Regions from separate parts of the Homo sapiens genome. Here region 1 is linked to region 2. The links are contacts of gene promoters, found by promoter capture Hi-C in human tissues and cell types (Jung and others, 2019). All regions are on one chromosome and are shown on one strand. Each heading gives the region's core, a stretch centred on a gene start or on the middle of the fragment in contact. The rest is flanking DNA. Distances are from core to core; before and after follow the strand shown.

What was found. The method cuts DNA at HindIII sites, captures the fragments that hold promoters and counts their contacts. A contact is called where the count stands out against the background at its distance.
Region 1: a contact is called between a fragment that was not itself captured here and the fragment with the promoter of ZFHX2 in region 2, in 1 of the 25 tissues and cell types used here (adrenal gland).

The regions. Positions count from the first base shown.
Region 1 is chr14:23,192,613-23,197,052 of GRCh38, forward strand. It overlaps LOC105370406 (a long non-coding RNA gene), which reads right to left. Exons shown (of 4, transcript XR_943606.3): 4 at 2,270-2,648. It also overlaps a transcript of RNF212B not described here. Among named protein-coding and RNA genes, the nearest start is that of SLC7A8, 11 kb to the left of the region's middle. The HindIII fragment of the contact is 4,786 bases long and covers 1-4,440 here.
Region 2 is chr14:23,550,046-23,554,686 of GRCh38, forward strand. ZFHX2 (zinc finger homeobox 2) reads right to left here and starts at 1,720. Exons shown (of 10, transcript NM_033400.3): 1 at 1,298-1,720. It also overlaps a transcript of THTPA not described here. RefSeq lists enhancers at 512-1,174, 2,024-2,073 and a silencer at 1,654-1,893. The HindIII fragment of the contact is 20,255 bases long and covers 1-4,641 here.

The DNA.
Region 1 (4,440 bases), core at 910-3,409, 360 kb before region 2:
CAACATGGCACATGTATACATATGTAACAAACCTGCACTTTGTGCACATGTACCCTAGAACTTAAAGTATAATAATAAAAAAAAGAATATTCTAATTATGGGAAGGCCAGAAACTATAGTCACTAATTTGGTGATAACTATGCCTTTATGCCTTTAATTATCTTCATAAGACCAATTTTTTAAAAATATAGCTTTATGGCCAGGTGCGGTGGCTCATGCCTGTAATCCCAGCACTTTGGGAGGCCAAGGTGGGCGGATCACCTGAGGTCGGGAGTTTGAGACCAGCCTGACCAGCATGGAGAAACCCTGTCTCTAGTAAAAATACAAAAATTAGCCGGGCATGGTGGCACATGCCTGTAATCCCAGCTACTAGGGAGGCTGAGGCAGGAGAATCGCTTGAACCTGGGAGGTGGAGGTTGCTGTGAGACGAGATCACGCCATTGCACTCCAGCCTGGGCAACAAGAGAAAAACTCTGTCTAAAAAAAAAAAAAAAAAAAAAAAAAAAGAATGTTACCAGAATGGCACTGCCTTTCTCAGCAGCAATGCTATTATAGAAGTTTAAATGGAGCAATGTCTTCAAAATTGAGAAGGAATATGATTTTCAACTCAGAAAATTATACATAGCCAAAGTATCAATCAAAAGTGGGTATAAAATAAAATCTCTATCAAAATATAAGATCTCACATTTACCTCTCTTGTGTTCTTTTTCAGAAAGCTGTTGGAGAATGTGCACCACCAAAATAAGGGAATAAGTAAAGGAGGAAGAAGACCCTGAGTTCAGGAATAAGGTACCACAACTAGAGACAGTCAAAGAGAATTCCTAGGATAAGAGGGTGAATTAGGACCAGACAGCCACCCCTCCAGAGGGAGGGCAGAATGGAGGACTCAAGAGGATGTCTCCCAGAAAATAAAAATGCAGCTGAGGATTACTTGATGTTTGGCAGCCTGGAACATAGTACCCAGGGGGCGGATTTATGTTTTTATCTAATGAGTCTAAGAAGAACTAGCGATAGTGACACAGAAAAGCAAGCAAATGAAAACATGAGGCAAGTATTAACTTCAAGGAATTGTTTGATTTGGCTCAGCAATAAAGAATATGTAGATAGTCATAATAACGCATACCAGTAGAAGATTTAACAAAAAAAAAAAAGGAAGAATGGAAAGAGAAGAAGAGTGGGGGTAGTTATTAGAAGTTTTGTAGTACAATATGACTTTTAAAACCATATACTATCTTTCTTTTTTTCTGAGATGGAGTGTCACTCTTGTTGCCCAAGCTGGAGTGCAGTGGCGCGATCTTGGCTCACTGCAACCTCCGCCTCCTGGGTTCAAGCGATTCTCCTGCCTCAGCCTCCCAAGTAGATGGGATTACAGGAGCCTGCCGCTACGCCTGGCTAATTTTTGTATTTTTAGTAGAGACAGGGTTTCACCATGTTGGCCAGGCTGGTCTGGAACTCCTGACCTCAGGTGATCCACCCGCCTCGGCCTCCCAAAGTGCTGGGTTTACAGGCATGAGCCACCATTCCTGGCCTCATATACTATCACTTAAAAATTAAAAACAAAAGAGGAAAATAGGTAGCAGACAAGCACTACATAAACATGGCAGCAATGGTATTATCAGTCACATTAGAATTTAAGGCAAAAAGCATCAATATATATAAAGGAGGCCAATATAAAATAATTAAAAGAACACTCAAGAAGATATGACAATCTTGAACTTCTAAGTACCTAAAAATAAGGCTTGAAATAGATGAAGAAAAAATTGATAGAATTGAAAAACAAATTTGGAAAATTTGCAATCATTGGGAGAAATTTTAATGTACCTCTATTAGAAGCTGATAAATCAGCCAGGCGCAGTGACACACACCTATAATCCCAGCACTTTGGGAGGCTGAGGTGGGCAGATCATCTGAGCTCAGGAGTTTGAGACCACCCTGGGCAACATGGTGAAACTGCATCTCTACTAAAATAAAAATTATCTGGGCGTGGTAGCACCCACCTGTAGTCCCAGCTATGTGGGAGGCTGAGGCATGAGAATCGCATGAGCCCGGGAGATGGAGGTTGCAGTGAGCCGAGATCGTGCCACTGCACTCCAGCTTGGGCTACAGAGTGAGACTCTGTCTCAAAAAAAAAAAAAAAAAAAAAAACAACGCTGCTGTATCAAACAGGCCAGAAAAATTAGTAAACAGATAAAATATTTGAACAAATTAGCAAGCTTGATCTAACAGATTTCTAAAGAACTGTGCATTAAAAAATAGAGACTATACATTATTTCCAAGTATGCATGGTATATTTAAAAACATTTCGATTTACTGGGTCACAGAGGAGCTCTAGAAATTTCAAAGATGTGAAATCATACAGCATCACACAGATTCTTGGGTCACAATGAAATTAAATTAGCAATCAACAATTAAAATAGAAAATAAGGTAAAGACTTTTGGGAAATTTGAAAATGAACGAAATAACTCGGTTAAATAATAATAATGGAAATGAAATAACTAGAAGTTAACTGACAATGAAAGTACTGCATATAGGAGCCAGGTGTTGTGGTGCACGTCTACAGTCCCAGCTATTTGGGAGGCTGAGGTGGAAGGATTGCTTGATCTCAGGAGTTCAAGTCCAGCTTGGGCAACATAGTGACACTCTGTCTCTAAAGAAAAAAAAAAAACCCATGAGATGCAGCTAAAGTAGTATTCTGAGGTAAATGTAAAGTCTCACAGATTTAGAAAACATGGAAGATTTATAATAAATGAATTAAGCTATCAGAGGAACCAAATGGAATTATAAGCGCTTGACTCGTAGCCCATCTTCACCATATCTCTTGTCTACCTCTAAGGCTTCGATGTCCTTTGTTCCCATGATTCACCCTCACTGCTCTGGAACCAATTGTTTTGTAATGCTCTTCCTTCATTATAGTCTCATTTCTATTCAGTAATTCAATTTAGTGCTAATTCTCCCCTACTTCATGCACTCATTTCGTGTGCTCAGTATCTTCTTCCAACACTCCCTGGACCTCCACACCTCAAATGAAACCTGTGCTCTCCCGACAGCACATCCACCCTCCTAATACTCCTCAGTAGAGATGGGTCCTTGCCATGTTCTGATGGCACCTGGACGGTGGAAGGGACTAGCATGTATTGAGCAATCACTATGTGCCAGACACTTCATGTAACAAGGAATTTCATCATGTTTAATTTCGTTTAACCTTCCAAACAACCTTTCAAGGTAAACGTTGTTTTGCATTTTACAAAGGAGGAAACGGGTTCAAAATTATGTGACTTGCCAAGGACACACACAATGGCAGAGCTGTAATTGGACTCTAAATCTTGATTGACCTCACTGCATTTGCTCTTTTCACTGTGCCACGGGAGAAAAAAGGTACAACATTCTTTTCTGTCTCAGTTGCTTTCAATCATGACATTGTTATTTCTCAATTCTTCTCTGGATGCTTACTACCACTTGGTCACATCCTCAATTGCTGCTGTCTACTGACCTCTGAAAACTTCCTTATGAACGGGAGCACCTGGCTTAGCATTTACTCTGCAAATCAGAGCCTAGACACTTAGCCACCATGGAAAAGTGCCTTTTACCAGGTGCCGAAAAATTTCTTTCTGATTGTAACTACCAATCCTCTGAGTGCCCACTGTCTCTCTGTCATTATTCTTTCTGCTCTTTCTCCAGCCTGCCCCGCTCCGCCATTATCATGCCAAAATGCATGGCCCAACCTCCAGCTGGCTTCCAAGCCCACTCTGCGTCACCACTGCTCTCTGTGCCACAGCCACACCAACCTCCTTTCAGTCCTCAGATGACCTACCAAAGGGCTCAAAAAAACAAAAACAAAAACATAGAAACAGGGGCCTGCTCTGTCACACGGGCTGGAGGGCAGTGGAGTGATCATAGCTCACTACAGCCTTGAATTCCTGGGCTCAAGCAATCCTCCCGCCTCAGCCTCCTGAGTAGCTAGGACTACAGGGCTGCACCACCATGCCCAGCTAATTTTTAAAATATTTTTATAGAGATGGGGTCTTGCTATGTTGCCCAGGCTGATCTTGAACTCCTGGTCTCAAGCAATCCTCCTGCCTAGGCCTCCTAAAGTGCTGGGATTACAGGCATGAGCCACTGTTCTAGGGCCCAAAGGGCTTTTTTTGTGTCCATGCTCTTCCTTCTGCCTAGAGGCTTCTCTTCGCCCTTAGCCTAGTTCACTGCTATTCATCCTTCTGATTTAGCACAATTGTTACTTCCTCAAAGAAGCCCCCACCCACCCCATTCCTGGCCCTAGAGTGTGTTCTTTGTTTCAGAGTCCTCACTTGTGATAACTAGAGTGATTTTATGATTAATGTCTACCTCCCCATCTAGACTGCAAACTCCATGAGTGCAGGGACAATGGTGCTTTTTTTGCTCACTAATGTCTTCAGGGCCCAGTACAGTGCCTAGGACTAAGT
Region 2 (4,641 bases), core at 470-2,969:
AGTGGGGGAAGGGAGTAAAATTAAGTCAGCAGGGAAGAGGTTTTGTTGTGCGAAGCTCCTGGAAAGGCAGATGACACGCATGAGACCAGAAGGTGAGGTTCTGATGAGGGAGACAGGCACATGGCAAAGGGGACAGTCAACAATGCTAGGAAGTTCCAAAGCTTCTCTGGTGATGGTGGAAGAGGAGGCTGTCCTGGCCATGCTGAAGGCACTAGAGGCTTTGGCGAAGACACATTTGCTCCATCATCCCACTCCTCCAGGCCCTGACTGTGACCACCACAATCATGACTGATAAGCAAATTCCAAAGTAGCCTGAAAAGGCCAGAGATATCCAGACAGACTCTGAAGGAGAGGGCATGGAATCCTAGACCGACAGAACAGGCAGCCAAGGCGTGACACATAGTGATAGAGACACACAAGGAGAGGATCACTCAGATGGGAAGGGTCACAAGTGGAGACAGTGACATACAGATCCAGAGATGGATGGGATGGAAGAGACAAGATGAAGAACAGCAAAACCAAAAGTCAGGGACACATGGACAGAGATCAGCGGGGCTACAGGCACAGCGAGGAAGCGTGGTCCTGTGCTTGAAAATGATAGGGCTGCTCAGAGGGGCAGACGAGCGGATGGGGGTGGTAGGATGGGCGTGCAGGACAGACACGCTTCACCTTGAATGGGCTTATGGCCTCCCCTCACCTACTCAACACTTTCAAAAAAAGGAATGGAAAGCCCAACTTCAGCCAAAAACGAACGAAGACTGAGAGTATCCACGTCCCCTCCCACTCCACGCCCCAGCGCGCTAGCCCATCCATCAGCCCGCCGGCCGCGGTTCTCCCATCCCACAGCCGGCGGGGGGCCGCCGAGACCCAGGACCCTCCAGGCTGACAGCTCTGAGCCCTCACACTCACCGGGCCTCCCCTTCCCCCCGGGATCCCCGCTCCCTGCCCAACTCGGCGCGGTCCGTCTAGGCTTTCCATACCCTTCGTCTGTCCGGCGGGCCTCTGCCTTTCCCGTTCCCGTTTCTCCCTCCACCCCCGCATCTCTCTTCCCCCATCCTCGCGCACGCCCTCTTCCTCCCACACCCCTGTCTGCTATCTCCCAGGGCTCTCGGTCTGTCTGTCCGTCCGTCCTTGTCCCCTCCCCCAGCCCCTTCCCGTCCCTCTCCGTCCCCTCCAGCGGCAGTCTCCAAGCGCCTCCTCTCCCGTCTCGAGCTTCCAAAGAGCAAGGAAGGGAAGAAGAGAGAGAGGGAGAGGAGAAAAAAACCAACCCAGCAGCATCGGAAATCGATGCACTTACACCTCAGCTGGAAGCAGGGACGGGAGTCGAACCGCGGCCACCGAGCAGCGCGAGGCGGGGAGGGGAGGGGGCGGCTCTTGGAAGGGACTTCTCCGATGTGTTGATTCCTCTTTTTTCCCCTCCTCCTCCCTCCCTCCAGCGCTCGCTCCGGGGCGTCAGGGACGGAGACGGAAAAAAATAAATAAATAAATTCACGGCGGTGAGGGAAGTGAAGGAAAATAATCAATGCTATTTGGCTGCGGCTGAAGTGTTTCCCCGGCTTCGTGAGGGGGTTTCCATTGATTCACCCTGGGCACTCGCTCGCTCCCTGCCTCCTCCTCCTCCTCCTCCTTCTCCTCCTCGCCCTCCTCCTCCTCCTCCTCCTCGCCCTCACTCCTCCGCCTCATTCACTGGCTGGAGTCTAGGCGTCCCACACAATGGAATAATCAATACCCAGGCGCCCGGGGCTGCCCCACTGAGCAGGTGCAGCGACCCGCCCGCCGCGGCGCATGCCGGGAGTTGTAGTCTGTTCGCGCCCGCCCGCCTGCCTCGCGGGACCCAGGGCCGGGGGCAGGCCGGCCAGCCCACCAGGTCGCCTCCAGGTTCAAGCCGGTGCCTGCAAAGAGGGCAGGCCCCTTTAAACTCTTTTCCGTCTCCTCTCCTCTTCATCCTGTGGCCTGCAGAAACCATACATGTGTTTTGTTGTTTTGTTTTAAATCAGCTTCAGAACAAGCCCTGAGCCGCCCAAGGCCTCCTTTTTTCATTCTCTTCTTCCTGCCTTATTATTCCGCCTCCCCCATCTCCCCCCGCGAAATTGGGTACTAGAACCTTCTCTACCGCAGCAATTACTCTTTAGTCTCTGAGAGCTTCTGCCTCCTCCACACGGTTACATAGTCCCCTGAGCTGGGTTGGGGGAGGTTCGGGCTCCTCCTCATCTTCAGTTTATCGCTTATTAAGTGCTCCTGAATTTTTTTTTTTTTTTTTTTTCTGGAGACGGAGTCTCACTCAGTCGCCCAGGTTGGAGTGCAGTGGTGCGATCTCGGCTCACTGCAACCTCCACCACCGGGTTCAAGCGATTCTCCTACCTCAGCCTCCTAAGTAGCTGGGATTACAGGCATGCATCAACACACCCAGCTAATTTTTGTATTTTTAGTAGAGACGGGGTTTCACCACGTTGGTCAAGCTGGTCTCGAACTCCTGACCTTGTGATCCGCCTGCCTCGGCCTCCCAAAGTGCTGGGATTACAGGTGTGAACCACCACCGCGCCCAGCCCGTTTTTTTGTTTGTTTGTTTTTTTCTTGAGACAGAGTCACTCTGTCGCCCAGGCTGCAGTGCAGTGGCATGATCCCGGCTCACTGCAACCTTCACCTCCCAGGTTCAAGTGATTCTCCTGCCTCAGCCTCCCAAGTAGCTGGGATTGTAGGTGCCCACCACCATGCCCTGCTAATTTTGTATTTTTAGTAGAGACGGGGGTTTCACCATCTTAGCCAGGCTGGTCTCGAACTCCTGACCTCAGGTGATCCACCGGCCTCAGCCTCCCAAAGTCCTGGGATTATAGGGGTGATCCACCTCACCCGGCCGCTCCTGTATTCTAATAATAATTTTTAAGATTTCTTGAATGCACAGGGACAGTTCCAAGCACTTTTACATACATTGTTTACTCCTCTCAATACCTCAAGCATGAGGTAGATGCTATTATAGTCTCATTTATTGAGGAAACTAAGGCACAAACAAGTGAATTAACAGGCCCAAGGTCCAATGGCCAATAAGTAAGTGACAGTGCCAGGACTCAAAAACCTCCATGGTCTGGCTCCAGGGCCCATACTAACTGCTATAGCCTACTTCTCTTAAACAACACAACAAAACCCTGAAGTTCACATGACAAAAAGGAGAGATAAATGAACATTTTGAGTTTATACTATGTGACAGTTTATGACTGAATCCTCACAGGTAACTGTGAGGCAGGCCACATTTTCTCAATGAAAAAGCAGAGGCTGGCCGGGCATGGTGGCTCACTCCTGTAATCCCAGCACTTTGGGAGGCTGAGGTGGGTAGATCACCTGAGGTCAGGAGTTCGAGACCAGCCTGACCAACATGGTGAAACCCTGTCTCTACTAAAAATACAAAATTAGCTGGGCGTGGTGGTGGGCACCTGTAATCCCAGCTACTCGGGAGGCTGAGGCAGAAGAATCGCTTGAACCCGGGGGGCAGAGGTTGCGGTGAGCCAAGATCACACCATTGCACTCCAGCCTGGGCAACAAGAGTGAAACTCCGTCTCAAAACCAAAAACAGGCCGGGCGTGGTGGCTCACACCTGTAATCCCAGCACTTTGGGAGGTGGAGGCGGGTGGATCACAAGATCAGGAGATCGAGACCATCCTGACTAACAGGGTAAAACCCCATCTCTACTAAAATTACAAAAAATTAGCCGGGCATGGTGGTGGGCACCTGTAGTCCCATCTACTTGGGAGGCTGAGGCAGGAGAATGGCATGAACCCTGGAGGCGGAGCTTGCAGTGAGCCGAGATGGCGCCACTACACTCCAGCCTGGGCGACAAAGCGAGACTCCGTCTCAAACAAACAAACAAACAAAAATTAGGAGGGTGGGGTGGCACGTGCCTGTAGTCCCAACTACTCAGGAGGCTGAGGCGGGAGAATCATTTGAACCCAGGAGGCAGAGGTTGCAGTGAGCTGAGACGCCAGAGTGAGACTCTGTCTCAAAAAAAAAAAAAAAAAAAAAAAAAAAGCAGATGCTTAGGAAAGTGGAGTAGCTTGCGGAAGGCCAAACATCTAGAAAGTGAAGCTGGGAGTCGACCTCAGGTCTGGCTCCGGAAACTGGTCTTTCTGTTCAAATAAGCTGCTGCTTTTGCCCCACTGGATTGGATCTTATAACATAAGGAAAAATTAGGTCTTCATCCCAGGTTAACAAAACCGGAAAGCAAAAGATGGATGAAAAGCAGGCTTTAGGAGCTGGGGTTTCTTCTCTCCCTAACCAACAGTGCTTAACATGGAGTGGGGACAGAGGTTGACCCAAGCTACTCCAAGTTCAAGATGCCATTTGTTTATTTATTTATGCACAGGGTCTTGCTCTGTTGCCGAGGCTGGAGTGCAGGCAGTAGCAGGATCGTAGCTCACTGCCCTTGACCTCCTGGGCTCAAGCTATCCCGCTGCCTCAACCTCCTGAGCAGCTGGGACCACAGGCATGCACTACCACACCCGGCTAATTAAAATTTTTTTTTTTTTTTTTTTGTAGAAACAGGGTCTTCCTATGTTGCCCAGGCTGGTCTCAAACTCCTGGCCTCAAATGATCCTCCTGCCTCGACCTCCCAAAGTGCTAGGATTACAAGTGTGAGTCAACACACCTGGC